3 separate regions of the Homo sapiens genome follow, and all the other regions are linked to region 2. Evidence: promoter capture Hi-C in human tissues and cell types (Jung and others, 2019). All regions are on one chromosome and are shown on one strand. Each heading gives the region's core, a stretch centred on a gene start or on the middle of the fragment in contact. The rest is flanking DNA. Distances are from core to core; before and after follow the strand shown.

Evidence for each region. Contacts are between HindIII fragments. The study calls those that stand out against the background at their distance.
Region 1: a fragment that was not itself captured here is called in contact with the fragment with the promoter of CAMK4 in region 2 in 1 of the 25 tissues and cell types used here (mesenchymal stem cells).
Region 3: a fragment that was not itself captured here is called in contact with the fragment with the promoter of CAMK4 in region 2 in 1 of the 25 tissues and cell types used here (dorsolateral prefrontal cortex).

Annotation. Positions count from the first base shown.
Region 1 is chr5:112,136,486-112,140,395 of GRCh38, forward strand. No RefSeq gene overlaps it. Among named protein-coding and RNA genes, the nearest start is that of EPB41L4A-AS1, 22 kb to the right of the region's middle. The HindIII fragment of the contact is 3,115 bases long and covers 1-3,062 here.
Region 2 is chr5:111,222,105-111,226,160 of GRCh38, forward strand. CAMK4 (calcium/calmodulin dependent protein kinase IV) reads left to right here and starts at 2,280. Exons shown (of 11, transcript NM_001744.6): 1 at 2,280-2,540. The coding sequence starts at 2,380. RefSeq lists enhancers at 1,409-1,508, 2,469-2,518 and a silencer at 1,869-2,358. The HindIII fragment of the contact is 2,937 bases long and covers 1-2,920 here.
Region 3 is chr5:111,758,051-111,761,776 of GRCh38, forward strand. It overlaps a transcript of NREP not described here. Among named protein-coding and RNA genes, the nearest start is that of NREP, 2.7 kb to the left of the region's middle. RefSeq lists a silencer at 1-274. The HindIII fragment of the contact is 7,107 bases long and covers 1-3,726 here.

The DNA.
Region 1 (3,910 bases), core at 255-2,754, 910 kb after region 2:
ATTTTAGAATATTTGCATATACATAATGAGATATCTTGCAGATGGGACTTAAATCTAAACACAAATTCATTTGTGTTTTATGTGTACATTATAAACGTAGCGTGAAGGCAACTTTGTACAATATTTTTAGTATTTTCGTGCATGAAACAAAGTTTGTGTACATTGAACCATCAGAAAGCGAAGGTGTCACTACCTCAGCCATCCATGTAGACGATCTGTGGTTGTTTGGCATCATCACCCCTGACTCTAAATTTATATGCCACCAATAAGCAAACATTTTCTCACACTTATTCACATAGTACTTAACAGTAAAAAAATGATATAACATTAATACAGCATAAAACATAATGAGTTCACAATAACTAAGCAGCACAGTAGCATCAACAGAATACCCGTATCCTCTGTTAAACAACAGCAACAACAAACATCGGCAGGCTTTCAATCTCCACCCATGATGCTGTGTTTTGATTAAAAGGTTACTGTGCACTTTTTTTTTTTTTTTTTTTTGGTGAGAAGAAACATCTGAAGTAGCTGACAGACCAGGAAGTGGGTCCTCTGGGGAGAAGGAAGCATTCTGCCGAATGGCTTTTAAAAATGTTTCCTCCAGGCCGGATGCGGGGGCTCACACCTATAATCCCAGCACTTTGGGAGGCCAAGGCATACAGATCATGAGGTCAGGAGTTCGAGACCAGCCTGGCCAATATGGTGAAACCCTGTCTCTACTAAAAATACAAAAATTAGCTGGGCATGGTGGCAGGAGCCTGTAGGTCCAGCTACTCGGGAGGCTGAGGCAGGAGAATCGCTGGAACCTGGGAGGTGGAGCTTGCAGTGAGCCGAGATGGTGCCATTGCAATCCAGCCTGGGCAACAGAGCAAGACTCTGTCTCAAAAAAAAAAAAAAGAAAAAAAAAATGTTTCCTCCAAAGTCATCTGCCTCATTGACAACAGTTTTTGTCTTAAAAGTCTGTCTTTAATTTTATAAACTGACATGATTTCTTATTCTGCAATGAGTGCAGATTGCTCTAGTCCTTCAGTAAGCCCAACATGCATTTTCACCATGTCTATAGGCACTTTTCTGCAGTGTTAACAACATCATCTTCATCAACACTATTATCACAATCACTTTCATTCAGAACCATTTTGGCTATAGTCAATGAGTGAACAACTGGAGCCTCACAATCAATATTAAAAACTTTGATATCCACTTCTTCCAGCTTGCTGATGGACTCTGAAGGTATTTTTTTGCATATGTAAAGAGTTCAGAGATCATTTTTTCTTATTTGACATACAGAATTTTTCAAAGTTGTCACATTGTTCTCCACCACCACTAAACGTAGTCACAGGCCAGAGGTTGCGCCAGGCATATACAACTGTGTCTTTAGTCACTTTGTTCAAAGTGTTGGTAACAGCATATATGGACAGCATCCTTCATGCTAAACTGTTTTTGAAAACCTTCACACACTTGCCTCTGTTCACCACGCTACTATGCTGTTCAAGAAATGTATTTTTCATTGATCTAAGGATGCCCTGGTCATATGGTTGAATTAATAAATTACATTTGGAGAAAAGTACATGGCATAAACAACATTACTTTTGATGAAAATTTTAGCTGAAAGCTGAGCAGAACAGTTGTCAAGGAATAATACTGGCAGTCAACATCCAGTCCAGCTTCCCTACAGTGAGCTTCAGCCACTGGTACAAATTGTTTGTGTAACCAATGAGAAAAGATGTCCCTGATGATCCAGGCTTTTGGTTAGCATAATAATGAACTAGTAAGAAATTGACTCCTTGCAAACAGCAAGGACACAAGCTTTTGCCTACACAGCAAGTGTACATTTATGTGTGTGTGCTGCATTAACACATCCGAGCACAGATATTCTGTTCATGGTATCTTTCATTCCTCTAGGGGCTTTCTCATCAGCTGTAGTCGTTGTCTTTCTGGGTCAATAACATCAAAACAGTGATGTTTCATCAGCATTATAGATTTGTCCTAGTATTAGATTTTCATCAGCAACAACCTTTGGAAACTCGTCAATGAATTTCTCCACTGCTTCATGAGCAGCAGATGTTTTATTACCACAAATCTTTAATGCCAAGTCTTTTCTTCAATGTCTTAAATTTCTGCAACCAGCCTGTTGAATATTTACAGTTCCTTTCAACTTGCAGTTCGTTGTGATAGATCTTTGCTTGTTTCCTGATTACCATACCGCTAAGTGGCACATGTTCACTGCAGTGCTGATGGATTCACTCTGTTCACACATGATCAAGATCTTCATGTTCAGCTTTATGCAGTGTTTTTCTATTTCTCATTAACTTCTGTCCACCACTTTCCACATAGATCTTCAACAGTTTATCCTTCTGTTTCTTAGGTCATATGTGGTGGTCATTGCAATACTATACCCTTCTGTAAAATGTTTCACACTTATACTGCTACCTGGTCTCTTCAACAGCTTGACTTTCTGTGCTATGGATAAGTAAAAATGCTTTCTCTTTTCCTTACCACTGTTGCCCAAGGGGTATAAACAGGCGGTTTTTTTTTTTTTTTTTTGACATTTTCAACAATATCTTCACACCACAGAGCATAGAATAAGCAAAAAAAACACAGTAAGGAATGCACATAAATCTTGGCCTCACATAGGGCATTGGGGGGAACCTGCCAATGGCATGTCTGGCCTGCACATGTGCCATTTTATTACACTTCTTTTGTGTGCTTGCATGGAGGAAACTGGGCATGTACAGAAAATATATATTGCAGCTGAAGAGGGCTCAAGTCTCTTTCTTCCCTTTGGGATGCTGAATAAACTGTGTGTGATGTGATTGCATTTTGACCGGGACCTAGCACATAAGGACAGATATGAAATTTTTCACTTGTGGCATCATATTGGCATTCAAAAATTTCAAATATTGAAGTGTTTTGAATCTTGAATGTTTGGATTAGGGAAAGCTCAACCTATAGTCACTTTCCTGTAAGAAAAACTGGAAAACTCTACCTTATCTAAGTGGTCAAGATTAACATCACCAGTGATAAGTCATGTGGATAGGTATACTATATTCTCTAATATGATGTGATGAGAAGGGCACTTCACCTCTGTGATACTCTCTCCCATAACCCACAGCCTCGTCTAATCATGAGCAAAACAGCAGACAAACCCATAGTGAGGGATATTCTTCAAAATACCTGACCAGTACTGCTTAAGACTATCAAGATCATGGAAAACAAGGAAAGACTAGGAAACTATCACGGACCACAAGGAGACTGTGGAGACATGACAACTAAATGCAATGTACTACCCAGGATTGGATCCTAAAACAGAAAAGGGATATCAGTAGAAAAACTAGTCTTTTCCCTTTTCTCCCTGCATTTTCTCTTCAGTGTGTCTCTTATAAGGATACTTGTCATTGGATTTAAGGCCCACAGTGGACAACCCAAAATAATCTCATATTGAGATTCTTAACCTAATTACATTTACAAAGACCTTTTATTTTCAAATAAGGCCACATTCACAGACTCTGGGAGTTAGGATATGAACATATTTTGGGGGCCACAGTCCAGCCCACTACAGATGTTAACATTAGAAGGAAATTTGTAAAGCATATACAAGACCTTGCTATACACTCTGCAACTTTTCTGTACATCTGAAGTTTTTCCAAATTAAAAGGGATATTTTAAAAAATTAAAAATAAATACATATATGAGCAAAGTTCGCCTATGATATAAAAATTCAGAAACTCAAAGAGTAAAAGGAAGCCACCACAGATGGATATCTCTTTGTAGACAGCAAAATTGGAGGCAGCTGTTATCTATAAATTTGTAAAGAATAATACTTAGTAACAATAATACTGTAGAAAATACCTGAATTATATTCTGGTTTTCTACACATGTCTAAGCCACTAAAGACGAAAAACTATCC
Region 2 (4,056 bases), core at 1,030-3,529:
ACACGGAGCAACTTTTAGTCCTGCAAGCTGCATTCATGGTAAGTGCCCTATACAGGTGTACCATTTTTTACCTTTTATACCATATTTTTATTGTACCTTTCCTATGTTTAGATATGTTTAAATACACAAATACTTATTGTTGTGTTACAGTTGCCTACAGCAGAGTTCCCAACCCCCAGGCCATGGGCTGGTCTGTGGCCTGTTAGGAACTGGGCCACACAGCAGGAGGTGAGCTGCAGGCAAGCAAGCAAAGCTTCATCTATATTTACAGGGGCTCTCCATCTCCCACATTACTGCCTGAACTCTGCCTCCTGTCAGATCAGTGGTAGCATTAGATTCCCGTAAGAGCATGAACCCTATTGTGAACTGCACATGCAAGGGATCTAGGTTGTGCACTCCTTATAAGAATCTACTGCCTGATGATCTATCACTGTCTCCCATCACCCCCAGATAGGACCGTCTAGTTGTAGGAAAACAAGCTCAGGTCTTCCACTGATTCTATATTACGGTGAGTTGTATAATTATTTCACTATGTATTGCAATGTAATAATAATAGAATTAAAGTGCACAATAAATGTAATGCACTTGAATCATCCCAGAACCATCTTCCCCACCCCCTGTCTGTGGAAAAAATTATCTTCCAAGAAACTGGTCCCTGGTGCCGAAAAGGTTGGGGACCGCTGGCCTGTAGTATTCAGTATAGTAAAATGCTGTACAGGTTTGAAGCCTAGGAGCAATTGACTATTCCATCCAGCATAGCTGTGTAGTAAGCTATACTATCTGGTTGTGTACAAGTACACCCTATGATGTTCTTACAACTGCATCGCCTAAGGATGCATCTCTTCAACTTCTCACCGTGGTTGAGGGATGCATGACTATATATATTTTCAATTTCCAATCAGCTAGGAATCACATTCCTGTAACTACTTGATTGGATATTTTTGGTTGTTTGTTCACCAGTATAGCAGGCAGGCTTTTAAGAATAATAAATCCATAAATTAGATTAAAATATTGGACCATATTAATGGTTGGTGCTATCAGGAATGGAGACTTACTAGGAAGAGTTTAGCGCATGTTGGAGGAAACTCAGGAAAAAAAAAAGGCCAAAAGTAACACCTGTGAAGTAAGGTGAAAGCGCCTGGAGCTATTTAGCCAGAAATGAGTTGTGGTATAATAACTGTCATAGATATGTATCAGAACATGACTAATTGTTGTTCGTCTTTGCTGAAATCTGAAAAGAAAAAAGTTCAAGGGTAGTTTAAGTGATGTATGTTTAATACTGAGAAGAAGAGCCATGACAGCTGATGGACAGGACATAAGAATGCTTATCATGGGATACATCTCTTGGGAAGAGAAAAAGGGCTTTTACATGTAGCAGTCTTCCCTGTCATGAATGAGGACAGGTCCTGCCTTAAGGCAGAGGGTTTACTAGTTGGCTTCCACAAGGCCCTTCTAGAACTGTAATTCTGAGCCACTTCAGATGCTGAGATTGAACTCGACACAGCCAAGTATCTCCTCTTTTAGGAGCTCCAGCAGTGCCGAGGAGGCAGTGCCACCAGCAGCGACGACAGCATTTATTCCAACTGAAGACTTCACTCAAAGGTGAGTCAGGTCAGTGTGGACCTGGGCGCTTCCTTTTCCTCCAGCTCTCACTGGGTCCAGGCACAGGAGCCCTGAGGGATCGGCGACCACAGTACTCCCTCCCCGGCCACCAATATAAGCTTTGACAGAGGATGGCTGGTTAGCTGGTGTTAGGTGGGAGGGACTCGCCACGGAGACGCGCTCAAGGAGGGATGAGTTGCGCCACCACCACCTAGGTCCCTCTCTCGCTATCCGGCGGGGCCGCCCGGACCCAGGTGCTGCCAGGGTACGCCTGGCGCCCGCCATCCCAGAGCAGCGTCCCGCTGCGCACGGTCTCCCTCCAGCTCCGGTCCCCGCGGGAGGGCGCGTGGGATGATGCGCGGGTCCTTGTGCCTTCCCCAAGCTCCAGCATCCGGAGCCGCCCTAGCCGGCACCGCGGCAGCCACAGCCTGGGAGAGAGAAAGGAAAGAGGGAGGGCGGCGGGAAAGGCTCGGCGCGGGAGGAGGGCGGGTGAGGAGGGAAGGAGCGAGGGGGAGGGAGCCTCTCTCCTCAGCGGTGCAGCTAGTCTCCCTCCAGCGGGCGGCGACTCCGGGTTCCCCCTCGCGCCCTCTCGCAGAGGCTCGCCCCCTTCCCCGCCCACCGTCCCTGCGAGCGCGGGCGGCGGCGGTGGGCGTGTGCGCGCGTGAAGGACGCCGCCTCTCTCTCGCTCCTGCGTTCGCAGGCGGCGGCTGGCGGCCGGCTTCTCGCTCGGGCAGCGGCGGCGGCGGCGGCGGCGGCTTCCGGAGTCCCGCTGCGAAGATGCTCAAAGTCACGGTGCCCTCCTGCTCCGCCTCGTCCTGCTCTTCGGTCACCGCCAGTGCGGCCCCGGGGACCGCGAGCCTCGTCCCGGATTACTGGATCGACGGCTCCAACAGGGATGCGCTGAGCGATTTCTTCGAGGTGGAGTCGGAGCTGGGACGGTAAGGCGCGGGCTCCGGCTGGGGAAGCCCGCGGCGTGCACTGGGGGTTGTCCCTCTCGCAGCGACGGCTCGGAGGGTGCGGGAGCCTGCCTTCGTGCCCTTCGATTTCTCCCTACCTAGTTAGTGTCTTGAGAGAGAGCTAACCTTCATTCAGGTGCGGCTCGAGTCCTTCCCACCCCACCAGAGCGCCTAGGCCGGTGCAGCTGTAGGATCAGCCCGACTCCCTCCCACCTTCCCTCCTTCTCGCAGGCTGCCACTTCCCTTGGGTGACAGCTCCCACCGCACGTGGGCCCTGCTTTCCCAATTGATATCTTTGCTCACGATTATAGCTTGCCAGAGGGTCCTGTTTGTCTAGTTATTGTTTAGGGTGGGGGCCGGAGGGTGCCCCTCCAAATCAAGACAGAATTATTAAGTTAGATTCCTCCTCCTTCCCCTCGTCAAGCTCTCCAAAGCAAGTGACACGAGAAATTAAACTTAAATACTAGCTTCCCTGCAGAGTCTGCTCAGGAGTGAAGGGAGAAATGAATCATTTAAGAGAGTTGAAGGCAGAATAATGAACTAGTGTGGCTTTAAAGAGAAAGCAGCATATGGGATCCAGGCAGTGGTAATTAGTGAGAATGCTGCTGCTTCCCTTCTTTCATGGGCTGGAGTGATTTATTTAAATTATATATGCAACAGACCATCTCCCTAGGATTGCAGATATGTCCCCTATCCCTCCTCTGAAGATCCAAACAGGTAGCAGTTTGGCCTTCTGCATGATTCCATATGCTTTCGTATTTGTATCCATTGAAAATTATAGTTTTCTTTCCCTTACTTCCTTTTTTTTTGTCTTTTCTCTCTGTTATCCATAGGTAAGGAGATTTATTTTCAACACTTATTTTAGATCCAGGCTCTTTAGTATAGGGAATCTGAAGATGTAATTTCAACGGTTGACAAGTTGCAGCTTCTGTACTTACTACTCCTTTGCAATTTCATTTTTCATTCTCTTTTTGCTGGAAATAGTATTGCTAACAGCCTTTTTATTTTTTCAAGTCATTGGAGGATCCAGAGCAGGATTCTGGATGTTGGTATTTAGTGGGAAGATGTAATGATCACTGCCCACTCTCCCCCCACTTTGCTAGTACTATTGAAGGCTCATTGAATATAGATGTGTAAAATAGGCAAACTTCTGAATGAAAATTCAGTGATTTGTCACTGTTAAAAATGTTTTGAAGTATTTGAGCACTGAATAATGTATACATAAACATCCATTTTTGATCAAGTTTTTCAGTATTCATCTGAAGATCTATTATATATATAGGTGGAAATGAAAGGACAATGATGTCGATTTTTGTAAGGTCCAAAACATGCCTGTTATTAATTGTATGATGCGTGACAGTGGAACCATGTAAACCTCTGAGTAAAGGGATGATCTACTTAAAATTGTTTACTGGGTGTTTTATAAACTACTGTGTAGTAGAGGAAGTGCCTGATGCTGCTGCAGGGACTGTCCCAGTAGCACATCTGTTTTCAGAGT
Region 3 (3,726 bases), core at 221-2,720, 540 kb after region 2:
GGAGCCGCGCTCAGACACACAAAGAGTCCGCGAAGGATGCATTTGCACACGGCCTCGGGTCGGACCCTGCCCCTCAGCTGGGTACGCGCGCCCCACTCCCTTCCGCGGGGAAGCCCGGGGCGGGGAGCGCCCCTGAAGGCCGGGCCCAGAGGTCCTGTGGCTGCGCGTGCACACACACACGTGCACACAGTCACACGCGCACAACCAGCCAGAGCTGCGGCCTGGCGTGATCGGCCCAAGACATACTCCCCTGGTGCTTCCTTCTCCTTCCCTATACGCTCCCCCACTGCCTGCCCGTCTGAAATTGTACTTTTTAAAATCGAGGATTGCTTTAAAAAATAAAGTGCTTTGCCATTTCTGATTTTTGTAAACTCGTCGTTCTTATTTAAAATCTATCTTTTCATAGTAATGTAATAGCTCAAAATTTTGCAACAAACTCAAATAAACTGGTTCTGTTGCCAATAAAGCAGGATATCATTTTATGGTAACTCTCAGATGTCACAGGAGAAGATTATTTCCTAATTAAATTGCCTTTCCAAGAAAAAAAGATATAAAGGATCATAGTGTCTTCTAAATTTGCCATCCACTTTTTCCCCTAATCACTGAAAGCAATGTTTTCCATTGTAACAAAGAAAATAAGGCAAATTTACAAAACTCAATTTTTAAACGTGTTTACAGAATGTCTGATGTTTTAGATTTAACATACTGGGTACAGCAATAGCAAACCTTAAAAAGCAATACTTTACACTCACAATTCTAAAAGAATGCACTGAGTTCTCTGTATGCTTGTTGCTGGGACTATAGGTCACCTTTAAAACTACAAAGCCATTGCCACAACAAATGCCTGTTAGACTGCACTGGGTATGATGTTTAAGGAGCCCACTGAAAGCTTCTCTGAATTAATCTAAAACATCACAGTAATTTTCCTGCAAAAATAAGATGATTTGGCAGCCATAGCTAGGAACAAAGGGAAGAAATATAAAACTCAACAAATTCCCTTGACCCTTTCAGGCCAGTTTACCAGCCAGGGAAGTACTGGAAGGAAGGTGTAAGGCATAGGCTGGGTGGTGGGAGAGGGGAGACGCCTGGGGGCTGATCTGCAAGTCTGGAACCCCAACACGCTGCTCAAGGGCACCTCAACATTGAGATCTTTGGCATTCACCTCAGGGTCAGGCTGGGAAAGGACCCCAAGGGCGCACCATCAAATCAGACTACCAAAAATCTATCCCAGTGATATTTGTTCAAAAGCTGCTTCTACAAGGAAACATACATATAAACACATACATACACAGGGACTTTAACGTTTATGTAAAACTTCCCTAAGATGTTCTTTCACAGAGAAGTGTTAATTTTTCTTTCTTTCTTTCTTTCTTTTTTTTTTTTTAAGAAATGGAGACTTACCATGTTACCATGTTGCCCGGTCTCAAACTCCTGGATTCAGGCAATCCTCACTACGGCCTCCCAAAGTGCTGGGATTACAGGCACAAGCCACCTCTCTTGGCCAATTTTTCTTCATTGTAATGATAGACATTCAGGTGACAGATTTTTAAGTATTAAGAACACTGGGTCAGATTCATAGCTTATTTATCTGTTGTGTTCCAGAAAACGGTTATCATCCAACTATCCAAGAAACATTCTTGAGTCTCCTCTAGGTGAAGGGGGCTGTGCTAATCACTTAAGGATATATGAGAAACTCATGCCATGTCACCTCACTCAAACTGTAGCTATAGCTGTCTCACAGTCCTCCTAGCTGCCATGTTCTGCCCTCTTCCATCTATCCTGTAGGTGTTACAGTAGACCCACTCTTCTAAAATTTCTTTTTAATCATGGTATCCCCTGCTCCATTACGGGATAAAGGCCATATTTTGCCACAGTGTGACTATAGTCTGACTTTCTAACCTTATCATCTCTCTCTCAATCATAGAATATCAGTCCTTCACTTCACTCTGATTGATCATTTAGGGCACATAATTATCCCTAAGCCATTACCAGTCAGGAAGCAAAGTCACGCAAAGATTGACTTCAGCTAAGATGTCTCAACCCTTCAGTTATATTGACATTTGGGACAAGATAATTTTTTGACGGGGTGAGGATGGAGGGTGAGGCTGTCCTGTGCATAGTATAATGTTTAACAACATCTCTGGCCTCTACCCATCAGATGCCTGTAGGAAACGCCAGTTGTCACAACCAGATATGTATCCAGACACTACCAAATGTTCCAAGGGGTCAGGGAGACTCATCCTTGATTGAGAACCACTAGCTCTAACAATCAGATCCATCTCCTGAGGTGGAAAGAGGTAGCCTCCCTTGAGTTATGTGCACTGCATTGAAGAGGGACAGAGACCTGACCCAAATCAGGATTTTCGTAGGGAGGAGGAAAGGGAAGTAGGCGATGTCCTTATCTTCATGGAATTTGTCGTCTGGGGTGAAGGGGTAAAGAGACAGCCAAAGCCAAAGTGAAGGTGCAGTGTGATAAGGATGATTGTAGAGTTCTTGCACAGGTTTCACTGTGGATGCCAGGGCTCCTTTCTAAATCAGACCAGCAGTTCAAAGAAAGTTTGCTAAGGGAGGTGAGGCCTAAACTGAATTTGTGAAGAATGAGAAAGAGTCAGCAAGTTGAAGGAGGAAAGGGGCCTTCTGAGCAGAGGCAGGGGCAGATCATGAGCTAAGAAATTTGACTGATGACTGATGACATCCAGATGGTATAAGAAAATAAAAACCCTGGGTCAGAACCTGATTCTTGGGTTCTGTCCCTGGCAAGTATGCCAAAGAATAGTCCCTCACAGGATTTGCTCAGTAGAAAAGGATGTACTTTAGACACAGGATTTTTCTTCTCCCTTAGATATGTCATTCTCAAGTATTTCCTGATTATAGCTAAATGTATCTCAAATCTATATATTCCTGCAACTTTATTAATTTTTGGTCAATGTCATTGCTTGGGGTAACCAGTTCCATGAGTCTGAGTTCCAGGTGAAAGGTTAGTAGAAAAGTGGTTAGAGCCAGCTCTATGTGGCCTTGGATAAGTCATTTAACCTTTTAGTCTCAGTTTATTCATCTTTCAGTTGGAGTTCATACCATAGTGCCAAATTGTTGTATTATGTGAGACTGTGTACAGTGTTTAGCATATAAGTTAACATTACATATACAGTAGCAATAGGTATTATAGACTGCTTTATAGAACAAAACTTATATGATGTTTCCTGATGGATCCCACCTCTCCTTCTGGCCTCATGTCTTGTCCTCTCTGGTCAGATTGAATGAGGGCACTTTTGCAGTGAGTTACACTGTTGCACAACCCTTGAGCCTTTCCACATGCTATTCCTCCTGCTGGAAGGCCCCTTTCCCACTTCTTCAATTTGCTAATTCCTGCTCCTTCTTCTCACATTCAGTTTAGGCATCACCACCTTTTTAAGAAATGTTCTTTGAACTGCTGATCTCATTTAGAAAGGAGTCTTTGTGGTCACAGTGCACCAGGTACAGAACTCTACACTTGTCCTTACCACTCTACACCTGAACTTGGACTTTATTTTTCTGTCTTCACCACTAGACTATAAATTCCATGAAGGAACAGATCGCAGGATACATTGTTGATCGCATATGTAACATCCATTATCCCTTTCTTCCTTCTCAACGAAATCTTGATTTTTGTCCTGGTCTCCATCCCTCCCATACAGCCTGCTAGATCCAGGGAAGGTGACGCCAAGGAATAGATTCTAATTATCTTAG